Linked DNA regions of Homo sapiens: region 2 is linked to region 1. The links are contacts of gene promoters, found by promoter capture Hi-C in blood cells and fetal thymus (Javierre and others, 2016). All regions are on one chromosome and are shown on one strand. Each heading gives the region's core, a stretch centred on a gene start or on the middle of the fragment in contact. The rest is flanking DNA. Distances are from core to core; before and after follow the strand shown. Region 1 holds the start of QPCTL (glutaminyl-peptide cyclotransferase like). Region 2 holds the start of MAMSTR (MEF2 activating motif and SAP domain containing transcriptional regulator).

Region 1 (5,651 bases), core at 1-2,500:
GCCACCGCGCTCGGCCTCCCCCAGTATTCGTAAAATCGCTGCCCCTTAACATTCATTTCAATAGGACTAATTATCTAGGACCACTCCCGTTATCGTTTAAAACATGTTTTTCATAATTAAATTTTTTTTTTTTTTTGTAGAGACGGGGGTCTCGCTATGTTGCCTAGGCTAGTCTCGAACTCCTGTGTTCCAGCGATGCTCCGCCTTGGCCTACTAAAGTGCTGGGATCACAGGAATGAGCCCCCGCGCCCAGCCCAGGGCGTTATCTGATAAAGCTGTCCCCTCTCCCGAAGTCACGATGCGTCAAAGGCCCCACGCCCGTTCTCAAACTCATCAGGAGAAAAGCAGGACGCTGCATCCCTAAAACATCTGCCCCTGCCCCCCCCGCTCTGCTCAACCCTTCCCACACTCAATCGGTCAAATATCCACCCTCAACCTCATTCCCGCCGCCTAAGCCTAGCCCGGCCTCACATGATGGTCACTACGCTCTCCGTTCACTCCCGTTTCCTCCGCGTTGCTGCTGCCTGAGGAGAGAGAGGCGGGACTTCCTCTTCCTGCGACCCACTTCCGTTGGCGCCTGCGCAAAGCCAACCAGTAAGTGGAGGCGTGGCCTGTTGCCACAGCATTCCCCACCAACGGTGCACAATGATGGAATAAAAGCTTCGGGTAGGGGTTCGCGGCCAGTCAGAACCACACGGGGGCAGATGTTTATGACAATGAAGACAAAAGGAAAGGCAGTCTGATTCAAACCGTTTCTTGAAGAATGGTACAGGTTGAAGGAGGGAAATGACAAGCTATTTCCAAATGCCCGCCGGCCGTGACTTCGGGGGCGCGGCCTCCGTGAAGCCAATCCGCTCCTCGCTTCGGAGACAGGCACCGCCCCTCTTCCCTCTGGGACGCGTTACTGACGTATCTACTGATCTTTCCGACCCTGCGCCACCAATCCCCTGCCTACATCCGGAAGGGGCATGGACCTGCGCCCGGGAGATCGAATATTTTCCATGATCAAACGCTGTTCATTGGCTTTCCCTCCTCCGCTAAGGCGGAGCCTACTTCTCTTGCGCTCCCATTTGGGTCGTGCCATTCTCAGGGGAACCAACCCCAATACCTAAGGGAGGCTGGGAGGCGTGTCCTCAGGACCGTAGTTCTTATTGGTTTCGCTGCTCGCTGTGGGGTGGGCTGGTGCAGCCGCAGCTGTTGCTTATTGGCCCACCGATTCCATGGGGAGGAACTTGGCTGGGCCTAAACTCAATCCGTGGTCTGGTACAGGTTTCAGGGCAAAGCGGCCATGCGTTCCGGGGGCCGCGGGCGACCCCGCCTGCGGCTGGGGGAACGTGGCCTCATGGAGCCACTCTTGCCGCCGAAGCGCCGCCTGCTACCGCGGGTTCGGCTCTTGCCTCTGTTGCTGGCGCTGGCCGTGGGCTCGGCGTTCTACACCATTTGGAGCGGCTGGCACCGCAGGACTGAGGAGCTGCCGCTGGGCCGGGAGCTGCGGGTGAGGCTGGGCGGGGACCCGGGCACCGCGGGGACCCTCATTCCCTCCCCGCTGTTACCCAGGGTTGACGTGGCTTTAGCGTACGGCCCTAACCGCAGATGCCACCGTCTTCGTCATCTGAGCGCATGACCCTTACCAAAGGAATAAGGCTTCGGGCTGGTTCTGCAACAGTAGCTTCCTTTTAAGAGGAAAGGTCTGAAATAGTAAGACGGGGGGGTTCAGGGTTCTACGCCTTTAGTCAACTATTTGGAAGAGTCCCTTCCTCCATCTCCCCTCTCTCTCACTGGGCCTCGATTTCCCCATCAAGTTTGAGGTAGGCTGGACCGGATGGTCTTGGAAGGACTTTTCCTGAGCCTTGGATTTATCCTAGAAGTCTCCGATGCTGGAGGCGGCAGATTAGGAAGAGAACCCGGGGCTCCTCGCGGGTGACGGCGCCCGGGGTAGGGTTGAAATGGGGGGGTTGCTCTCATTCTTCCCTTCCCTATCCCACCTCCTTCCCAAGGTCCCATTGATCGGAAGCCTCCCCGAAGCCCGGCTGCGGAGGGTGGTGGGACAACTGGATCCACAGCGTCTCTGGAGCACTTATCTGCGCCCCCTGCTGGTTGTGCGAACCCCGGGCAGCCCGGGAAATCTCCAAGTCAGAAAGGTAAAGGGACCCACCTCCAGTCCCTGACCCCCTAGCCCTCCAGGGAATGGGAAATAAGAATCCTGTTCAAGATCCCAAAGAAGCTAAGAGGAGGAACTGGGGCTCTGACTGGAGTTAATCGGACTCTAGACTCCATGCTGGTAACAAACCACCAGGCTGTACTGCCCCCCTTAATGCCCCCACCAAAAGCTTACTGTGTGCTAGGCATAGGCAACAGACAGCCCTATAAGGTGGGTACCAATATGATCTTCATTATGCAGATGGGGAAACTGAGGCTCAGAGAGGTTATACACATTGCACAAATCCTACAGATAATAAGTAGTAGACCTTAGCCGGGTGCAGTGGCTCATGCCTGTAATCCCAGCACTTTGGGAAGCCAAGGTGGAAGAATCACCTGAGAAGTTTGAGACTAGCCTAGTCAACCTAGTGAGACCCAATGTTTAGAAAATCATAGACCTAGAGTTGAACCCAAACAGGTTGGCTCCGAGCTGGTGCTGTAATGTATCTGTTGTCTTCCAGAAAGCATGAAGAGTCATTTAAAGGCCAGGCGCAGTGGTTCACACCTCTAATCCCAGCACTTTGGGAGGCCGAGACAGGCAGATCCCTCGAGATCAGGAGTTTGAGACCAGCCTGGCCAACATGGTGAAACCTCATCTCTACTAAAAATACAAAATTAGCCAGGCGTGGTGGTGGGTACCCGTAGTCCCAGCTACTTGGGAGGCTGAGGCACGAGAATCACTTGAACCCAGGAGGCGGAGACTGCAGTGAGCTGAGATTGCGCCACTGCACCCCAGCATGGGTGACAGAGCGAGACTCCATCTCAAAAAAAAAAAGTCACTTAAATACTGCCTGAGTCCCAATGCTACCTCATCCACTTAGATTGTGACCTTGGACTGGTTTCTTTTTTATTTTATTTTATTTTATTTTATTTTGAGATGGAGTCTCACACTGTCGCCTGGGTTGGAGTGCAGTGGCGCGATCTCGGCTCACTGCAACCTCCACCTCCCAGGTTCAAGCAAATCTCATGCTTCAGCCTCCTGAGTAGCTGGGATTACAGGTGTGCACCACCATGCCTGGCTAATTTTTTGTATTTTTAGTGAGACGGGGTTTCACCATATTGGCCAGGCTGGTCTCAAACTCCTGACCTTATGATCCGCCCACCTCAGCCTCCCAAAGTGCTGGGATTACAGGCGTGAGCCACCGCGCCCGGCCTGGACTAGTTTCTTAACCTCTCTGAGCCCATTTCCTCATCTGTAAAATGGGGTCATGTATTGGCAGTCCCTCCCCTAAATGGTTCCTAGAAGAGGGCTTAGCACACAGTGAGAGCTATTTAAGGGTAAGCTGTGATGAGTCTTGCTGGCTTCAAGAGGTGGGGTCTCCCCAACATCTGGCACCCAGTAGGTACTCACCAGCACTGTCAAGGGAATGATTTTAATCAGAGTAGGGGGCTGGGCACAGTGGCTCACATCTGTAATCCCAACACTTTGGGATGCTGAAGCAGGCAGATCACTTGAGGTCAGGAGTTCGAATACCAGGCTGGCCAACATTGTGAAACCCCATCTCTACTAAAAATACAAAAAATAGCCAGGCGTTGTAGGGGGCGCCTGTAACCCCAGCTACTCAGGAGGCTGAGTCAGGAGAATCACTTGAAGCCAGGAGGCAGAGGTTGCAGTGAGCCAAGATCAAGCCACTGCACTCCAGCCTGGGTGACAGAGCAAGACTCCATCTCAAAAAAAAAAAGAAAGAAAGAAAGAAATCCATTCAATCAGAGTGGGGCTTTAGTGTCAACCCATCTGCTCTGCATGGCTCAGGTCACGTGGCCCTTCTCCCCACCTCCTCCCCAGTCCCCGTCCACCCTCCCACCTCTCTCTTGCCGCTAGTTCCTGGAGGCCACGCTGCGGTCCCTGACAGCAGGTTGGCACGTGGAGCTGGATCCCTTCACAGCCTCAACACCCCTGGGGCCAGTGGACTTTGGCAATGTGGTGGCCACACTGGACCCAAGGGCTGCCCGTCACCTCACCCTTGCCTGCCATTATGACTCGAAGCTCTTCCCACCCGGATCGACCCCCTTTGTAGGGGCCACGGATTCGGCTGTGCCCTGTGCCCTGCTGCTGGAGCTGGCCCAAGCACTTGACCTGGAGCTGAGCAGGGCCAAAAAACAGGTGAGGAGCAGGAGTCGGGGAGGGTAGTGGGCTACCTCCACCTTTTCCCAAGCCCCCACCCTCCCTTGCCTGGACATTTGTCATCCCTCTCGTCTTCCCACTCTACTCCACGCACAGAGCCACAGGGATCTTTTTTTTTTTTTTGAGACGGAGTTTCGCTCTTGTTCCCCAGGATGGAGTGCACATGGCGAGATCTTGGCTCCCCGCAACCTCTGCCTACTGGGTTCAAGCAATTCTCCTCCCAACCTCAGGTGATCTGCCCACCTCGGCCTCTCAAAGTGCTGGGATTACAGGCGTGAGCCACCGCGCCTGGTCATCACAGGGATCTTTTTACCTTCTAGATGTCAGATTCTCTTTCCTCTCCCCCAAACCCTCCCAGGGCTCCCGCCTCATTCCAGCCATAATCCAGAGTCCTTATATTGGCCCACGAGCTGTGCCCTGTTACCTCTCCAGCCTCATCTCCCACCCCTCACCTCTTGCTCACTCTGCTGTAGCCACCCCCACCTCCTCTGGGTTCCTCAAACCCGCAGAGCTTGCTCCCACCTCAGGGCATCTGCACTTGCTGTTTGCTTTGGATAGAATGTGCTTTTCTGGCCAGGCTCCGTGGCTCACACTTGGAATCCCAGCACTTTGGGAGGTTGAGGTGGGTGGATCACAAGGTCAGGAGTTCAAGACCAGCCTGGCCAACATGATGAAACCCCATCTCTACCAAAAACACAAAAATTAGCCAGGCTTGGTGGTGCACACCTGTAACCCCAGCTACTCGGGAGGCTGAAGCAGAGAATTGCTTGAACCCGGGAGGCGGAGGTTGCAGTGAGCCAAAGTTGCACCACTGCACTCCAGCCTGGGCAACAGAGCGAGACTCCATCTCAAAAAAAAAAAAAAATTATCTGGGAGTAGTGGCATGCTACTTGGGAGGCTGAGAGGGGAGGATGGCTTGAGTCTAGGAGTTTGAGACTGCAGTGAGCCATGATCGTGCCACTGTATTCTAGCCTGGGTGACAGAGACCTTGTCTCTTAAAAAAAAAAAAAAGAATATGCTTTTCATAGATATCTTCCTGGCTGGCTCCCACTCTTCACTCAGGTGTCCACTCCAATGTCACCCCTTCAAAGAGGCCTTCCCGGCCGGGCGTGGTAACTCGCACCTGTAATCCCAGCACTTTGGGAGGCCGAGGCAGGCAGATCATTTGAGGTCAGAAGTTCGAGCCCAGCTTGTCCAACAGGGAAACCTCATCTCTACTAAAAATACAAAAATTAGCTGGGTATGGTGGTACATACCTGTAATCCTACTACTTGGGAGGTTGAGACAGGAGGATCACTTGAAACTGAGAGGCGGAGGTTGCAGTGAG
Region 2 (5,651 bases), core at 1,795-4,294, 3.0 Mb after region 1:
GCAATTCTCCTGCCTCAGCCTCCCCAGTAGCTGGGACTAGAGGTGCACGCCGCCACACCCGGCTAATTTTCTGTATTTTAGTAGAGATGGGGTTTCACCGTGTTGCCCAGGCTGGTCTCGAACTCCTGAGCTCAGGCAATCCGCCCGCCTTGGCCTCCCAAAGTGCTAGGACTACAGGCATCAGCCACCTTGCCCGGCGTCATTTTTTTGTATTTTTAGTAGAGACATGGTTTCGCCATGTTGGCCAGGCTGGTCTTGAACTCCTGACCTCAGGTGATCCACCTGCCTTGGCCTCCCAAAGTGCTGGGATTACAGGTAAGAGCCACCGCGCCCCACCTGGATGAATGTTCACTTTCTTATGTGCACAGTCAGGGTTTGTCCCCCAATTTGGGAGCAAGGATCTCTCTGCACATTTCTGCTTTTCTCTGGACATATGCGCCTTTTTGTATACTCCTTGCTCTTTGATTGCTGGTGTCTTTGTACCCATCCAACCACATAGGCACGCTCACGTGCACACTCAAGTACCCTTTGCCTTCTCAGGAACTGATCTGTAGTTCGAAACACTTGCACACTTCTTTTTTTTTTTTTTTTTTTTTTTTGAGATGGAGTTTCGCTCTTGTTGCCCAGGCTGGAGTGCAATGGCGTGATCTCGGCTCACCGCAACCTCCTCCTCCCGGGTTCAAGCGATTCTCCCGCCTCAACCTCCCAAGTAGCTGGGATTACAGGCATGCGCCACCACACCCGGCTATACTTGCAGACTTTTTGCCTGCCCTGGGACCTAAAACAAGACCTTTGACACTTTCACAGCTTGACAGCTCATTGTCCCCTCACCCAAACTCCCACACTGGTCCTCTGAGGTCCCTCCTCTGCTCTTCTGCCCCTGCGTGTGCGCCAGTATAAGCCTTTGTTTCTCTTCAGTGCTTGAGCCCTCTGCACGCCTACCCCTGGCCTCCAATCCCCATTGCTCCCCCCGTGAGCATGCTACTAGCCATTTGCACACTCGTTGATCCACCACAGCCGGACCCCTGTGCTTGGGCCTCCTTTATGCAACATGACCTTTTGCACAAAAAACACAGGCCTCATGGGACCTACCACCCCTCCCTTCCCACCCCAGAGTACAGCATTCTCAGGATCCCATCCCCCACGCATAAAGAGAGCCCTCTCTCACCAGATCGGAACTTGGAGCGAATGATTTGGGAACGCTGGGAGGAAGCCGCCAGGGTCATTGCCAAGGCCGGGATGGGGACCTGGACGGAGAGGGGGCAGGGCAGGGGCCCCATAGAGGGCTGGCTCAGAGTGGAGGTCAGGAGGCCGCCCCTGAGAGTGAATTCAGCAGGGAAAGGGCCCGAAGGAGGTGGGAATAGGAGCAGCCTTGGGCCATAACTTCCGGATCCCAGGGGCTGTAGAGGAGGGGGCTGCACACCCGGACACCTTGCTCCGAGGAAGGAGGAAGCTGGGGACCCAGACACCTGGTCTGAAAGACAGGGCTGAGGGTCTCAACCCTGGGATCCTGGGAGGGGAGGGACCTGGAATCTGGGACTCCTGGGTCCTGAGGAGGAAGGGTTGCGGGTTGGGACCCCTGTGTCTAGGAAAGGGAGGAAGCAGAGGGGCCTGGAGTCTGGAATCTTGAAGGAGAAGGAGGTTAAGGGCTGGAACTCAATACTCTTAGGAGATGAGAATCCAAGATCCTGGGTGGAGAGGGGAACGGGGCCCTGACAGGTTTCTGAGGAATAGAAGGGCCCCTGTGACCTGCATCTGAGAAGGAGTGAGTAGGGTGTCAGCCACCAGGTTCTCTGGGGAAGGGACTGGGACCAGAGAGGGGATAGAACCGTTGAGGAGTGCGCCCCCCCCGTCCACCCCAGGGGCTTCTCACCAGGTGGGCTCGGCGAAGCTGTGCTCTGGGGCGGGTTGAGTCTAGAGGCCGAGGCTGGACACCACAGGCTCCGCCCCACCAGCCTGGGACCGCCTCCAACCCACCTTCCTGGGGTGTGACGGGAGCCCCGCCGGGGACCCTGAGAAGGGGTGGGAGCACCCGCTGGGAGGGCCTGTGCGGGCCTTGGGGGATGCTGGGGGGTGAGAGCGGGGACGTCAGGGTTCCCCGGCTCGCTCCTCCTGCACGTCCTGGGGTTGTGGGGTCGGGGGGAACGGTGGCAGGCGGACTGACAGAAGCAGGTGCCCGGAGAGGGGCGCCGGGTGAGCAGCAGCGGCAGGTGGTCGTGTCCTGGCCCTACCGGCAGGTGCCACCTGTCGCCTACTTTTTCCCTGACGCAGCAACTGGAGTCAAGTTCAGGGGAGTGAAAAGTTCAAACGGGGGGCCCAGATTCCTGGATCCAAGAAAGGAGAGGGATGGGGACCTGGAGTCCTGGGTTTAAAGAAAAAGAGGCAGGGGCCTCTGGGGTGTTGGGAACAGGGACAGAGGTGTTCGGATTCGGCGGTGTGCCCGGCAGGCAGAAAGGTCCAGAGGGGGCTGGGGACTTAGATTCCTGGGTCTGAGGGAGGAGGGGGCTGGAGTATGGATTTGGGGGGGTGTCGAAGGGAGAATCGCTGGTTCCCACTGGCAGGACTGAGGGCCTTATAATCGGCAGAGCAAGCTTAGGGCCGTGTTCTGAGGGGTGTGGGAGGCTCCTCTGCTCTTGGGTTGGATTACATGCAAAAGGGCGAGCCAAGGCCGTGGCTATAAATACCTCCTCAGACTCGGCAGGGGCCCAGACAAGGGCCCTGCAACCTTGTTCTGCAGAAAATCATCATTAGCGCCCCTGAGTCTTAACAATCGAGGCGCTGCCGATACCACGGATACCTTTATTGCTCCCTGGCATTCACATCCTAAGCCCATGCTCCCACCGTCCCATCCGCTACTTCCCGAAAACTCAATCTCCCAACATTCCACGCGGGATAAGAACTACAACTCCCAGAAAGCTTTGCGCTCAGGCGGGCTCCTGTCCGTAGAAGCCCGTGACATTTCAAGGTTCGCGCGCTCGTTTGGTATTGGTTCTCAAGGAGACGTGGCCACGGGAGGCCCATGGCGATAATTGGCTGGCAGCTCCTGCTGCTCAAGATCCCAGAGGAGGCGGCGGAGCCTACGGAGTTCACGGTGCAAGGCATCGTCCGTCACTGGACCAGTGAGGCGCAGGCGCGAGCTCCCCAGGGGGAGGATGAGGGGCGGGTGCGAGGAGAAGCTTTCGAAGATGTCCCCTGTGAGGCCGAAGGCGGCGCGGTTAGAGTCTGAAAGTGGGAGTGAGGTAGTTGCATCGGGAAGAGCCGAGGCTGCGTCACACCCAAAGGAAGAAAAAAACTACAAACCCCAGCAACTCCTGGGGCGGGGTCCGTTCACACGCTACTCTAGGAGCCCCTGGGCATGATGGAAGTTGTAGTTCAGACGATGGAAGGCCACCGTTGCCTGGGAAACGGCTTCCCAAATCCCCGAGAAAGGGCTGGGAACTTGCCTTACAGATTCCTAAAGGTGGAGGAGTCAAGTTCAGGGGAGTGAAAGTCCCGAGACCTGGACTCCTAGGGGTGGTGGGTGGGTGGCTGGTGGAGGGAATGGACTAGGGATGCGAACCCCAGAGAATAAAGGGAGCTGGGGGCTTGAACTCCTGTATCTTGACGGGGGAAGGGGCTGGGTCCTGCACTTATGTCCTGGTGGGGAGGGACAGGGGTCCAGAATCTGGGGTTAGAAGGAGACTGGGGATCTGGACTCCAAGATCCTGAGAAAAGAAGAAAGGTGAGGTGGTTCACGCCTGTAATCCCAGCACTTTGGGAGGCCGAGGCGGGCGGATCACGAGGTCAGGAGTTCGAGACCAGCCTGGCCAACACGGTGAAACCCCCGTCTCTACTAAAGATACAAAAAATTAGCCAGGCGTGGTGGCGCATGCCTGTAATCCCAGCTACTCGGGAGGCTGAGGCAGGAGAATCGCTTGAACCCGGGAGGCAGAGGTTGCAGTGAGCCAAGATCGCGCCATTGCACTCCAGCCTGAGTGACAGGGCGAGACTCCGTCTCAAAAGAAGAAGAAAGCTGACAGCCCCAATGCTGTATCCCATTGCTCCTCACCTGTGTCCACAGCCTCCCGCTCTGCAGGGGGAGGGTCCCACGCGGCTGGCGGCCCGCGGCCAGGGCCCAGCTGATAGTGGCTGAGCAGATGGTGCAGCTGGGCGGGGGTCAAGGTGGGGTGGTCGGTTCTTAGGCTGCTCCATGAAGCCTGGTGGGAAGACCAGGTGAGAGGTTGATGGTCATTACGGGGCAGTTAAGAAATGAAATGGAAGGGCTTCCATAAGGGGAGTGGGTGTGGTGGGAAGATAATGGCATCTCTGCAGTGTCTTCTGGGCACTGTGAAGTCTGTTTATCACCAAAGTGATGGTGGGGAAGGGTGTGCTCCCAGCAATTTGTAAAAATGTGATGTGCCTCAGGATAATTGAGGATACAGGAAATGAGTAGGGTGGAAATAAATAAGATTGGCCATTCGTTTATATTATTGAATCTGGCGATGGTACTTGGGGATTTTTTTTTTTTTTTTTTTTTTTTGTCCTTAAAGAGACAGGGTCTCACTCCGTCGCCCAGGCTGGAGTGCAGTGGCTCGATCGTGGCTTGCTGCAGCCTCAAACTCCCGGCTCAAGTGATCCTGGGCTCAAGTGATCCTTGGCCCCAGCCTCCAGAGTAGCTGGGACTACAGGCACACGCCACCACACCTGGTTAAGTTTTTGTAGAGATGGGATCTCACTATGCTGCCCAGGCTGGTCTCAAGCTTCTCAAAGTTCTAGGATTACAGGCATGAGCCACTGCGCCCAGTTGGGATTCATTATTCTATGGCGGCCACTCTATATCTGTTTGACAATGTCTACACCTGATGTAGCTGACGTCAGAACCATCAATGTGCTTAACATCAGAGACTCCACCTAGACTGCCTGAGTTCAAAAATCCCAGGTGGGTCACTTATTACCTTCCGGCAGGTCACCGTCCCCTAGTCTCCTCATCCATAAATTTGGAGAACAGGAACTATCTAATAGAGTTGGTATGAGGATGCAATATGGCAAAATTGTAAAGTACTTGGAACACTGCCTGGGGCTTATTAAATGCATGGTAAACTTTCTTTCTTATTGTTTTGAGACAGGGTCTTGCTTTGTCACCCATGCTGGAGTACAGTGGCATGACTGTGGCTCACTGCAGCCTCAACCTCCTGGGCTCAAGCAGTCCTTCCACCTCTGCTTCTGGAGTGGCTGGGACCACAGACGTGTGCCTCCACACCTGGCTAATTTTTAAAATTTTTGGTAGAGATGGTGTCTCCCCTATGTTGCCAACTGGTGTCAAACTCCTGGGCTCAAGCGGTCCTTCCACCTCGGCCTCCCAAAATGCTGGCATTACAGGCATTAGCCACTACGCCCAGCCCATTATAAACATTTGATATAAATAAATAAATGTCTATGGGGAACAGTTTTTGTAAGATATTTAAGAAGAAAGGAAAATAAATAATTGAAATTGGCCGGCCATGGTGGCTCACGCCTGTAATCCCAGCACTTTGGGAGGCCGAGGCAGGCGCATCCCCTGAGGTCAGGAGTTCAAGACCAGTCTGCCCAACAAGGTGAAACCCTGTCTCTACCAAAATTACAAAAATTAGCCGGGTGTGGTGGCGCGTGCCTGTTATCCCGGCTACTCAGGA

Evidence for each region. Contacts are between HindIII fragments. The CHiCAGO score rates a contact against its expected background, and 5 or more counts as called.
Region 2: a contact is called between a fragment that was not itself captured here and the fragment with the promoter of QPCTL in region 1, in 1 of 17 cell types (fetal thymus). The highest score is 5.5, in fetal thymus.

The regions. Positions count from the first base shown.
Region 1 is chr19:45,691,416-45,697,066 of GRCh38, forward strand. It overlaps QPCTL (glutaminyl-peptide cyclotransferase like), which reads left to right and starts at 1,251. Exons shown (of 7, transcript NM_017659.4): 1 at 1,251-1,495; 2 at 1,998-2,141; 3 at 4,022-4,303. The coding sequence starts at 1,289. It overlaps SNRPD2 (small nuclear ribonucleoprotein D2 polypeptide), which reads right to left and starts at 538. Exons shown (of 3, transcript NM_001384647.1): 1 at 472-538. The coding sequence starts at 473. RefSeq lists enhancers at 74-794, 613-742, 753-882, 1,408-1,958. The HindIII fragment of the contact is 1,670 bases long and covers 659-2,328 here.
Region 2 is chr19:48,717,806-48,723,456 of GRCh38, forward strand. MAMSTR (MEF2 activating motif and SAP domain containing transcriptional regulator) reads right to left here and starts at 1,920. Exons shown (of 10, transcript NM_001130915.2): 1 at 1,874-1,920; 2 at 1,169-1,247. The coding sequence starts at 1,226. It overlaps RASIP1 (Ras interacting protein 1), which reads right to left. Exons shown (of 12, transcript NM_017805.3): 11 at 4,049-4,196; 12 at 2,780-3,192. The coding sequence ends at 2,993. RefSeq lists enhancers at 2,561-3,506, 3,211-3,260 and a cis regulatory region at 2,703-3,243. The HindIII fragment of the contact is 260 bases long and covers 2,915-3,174 here.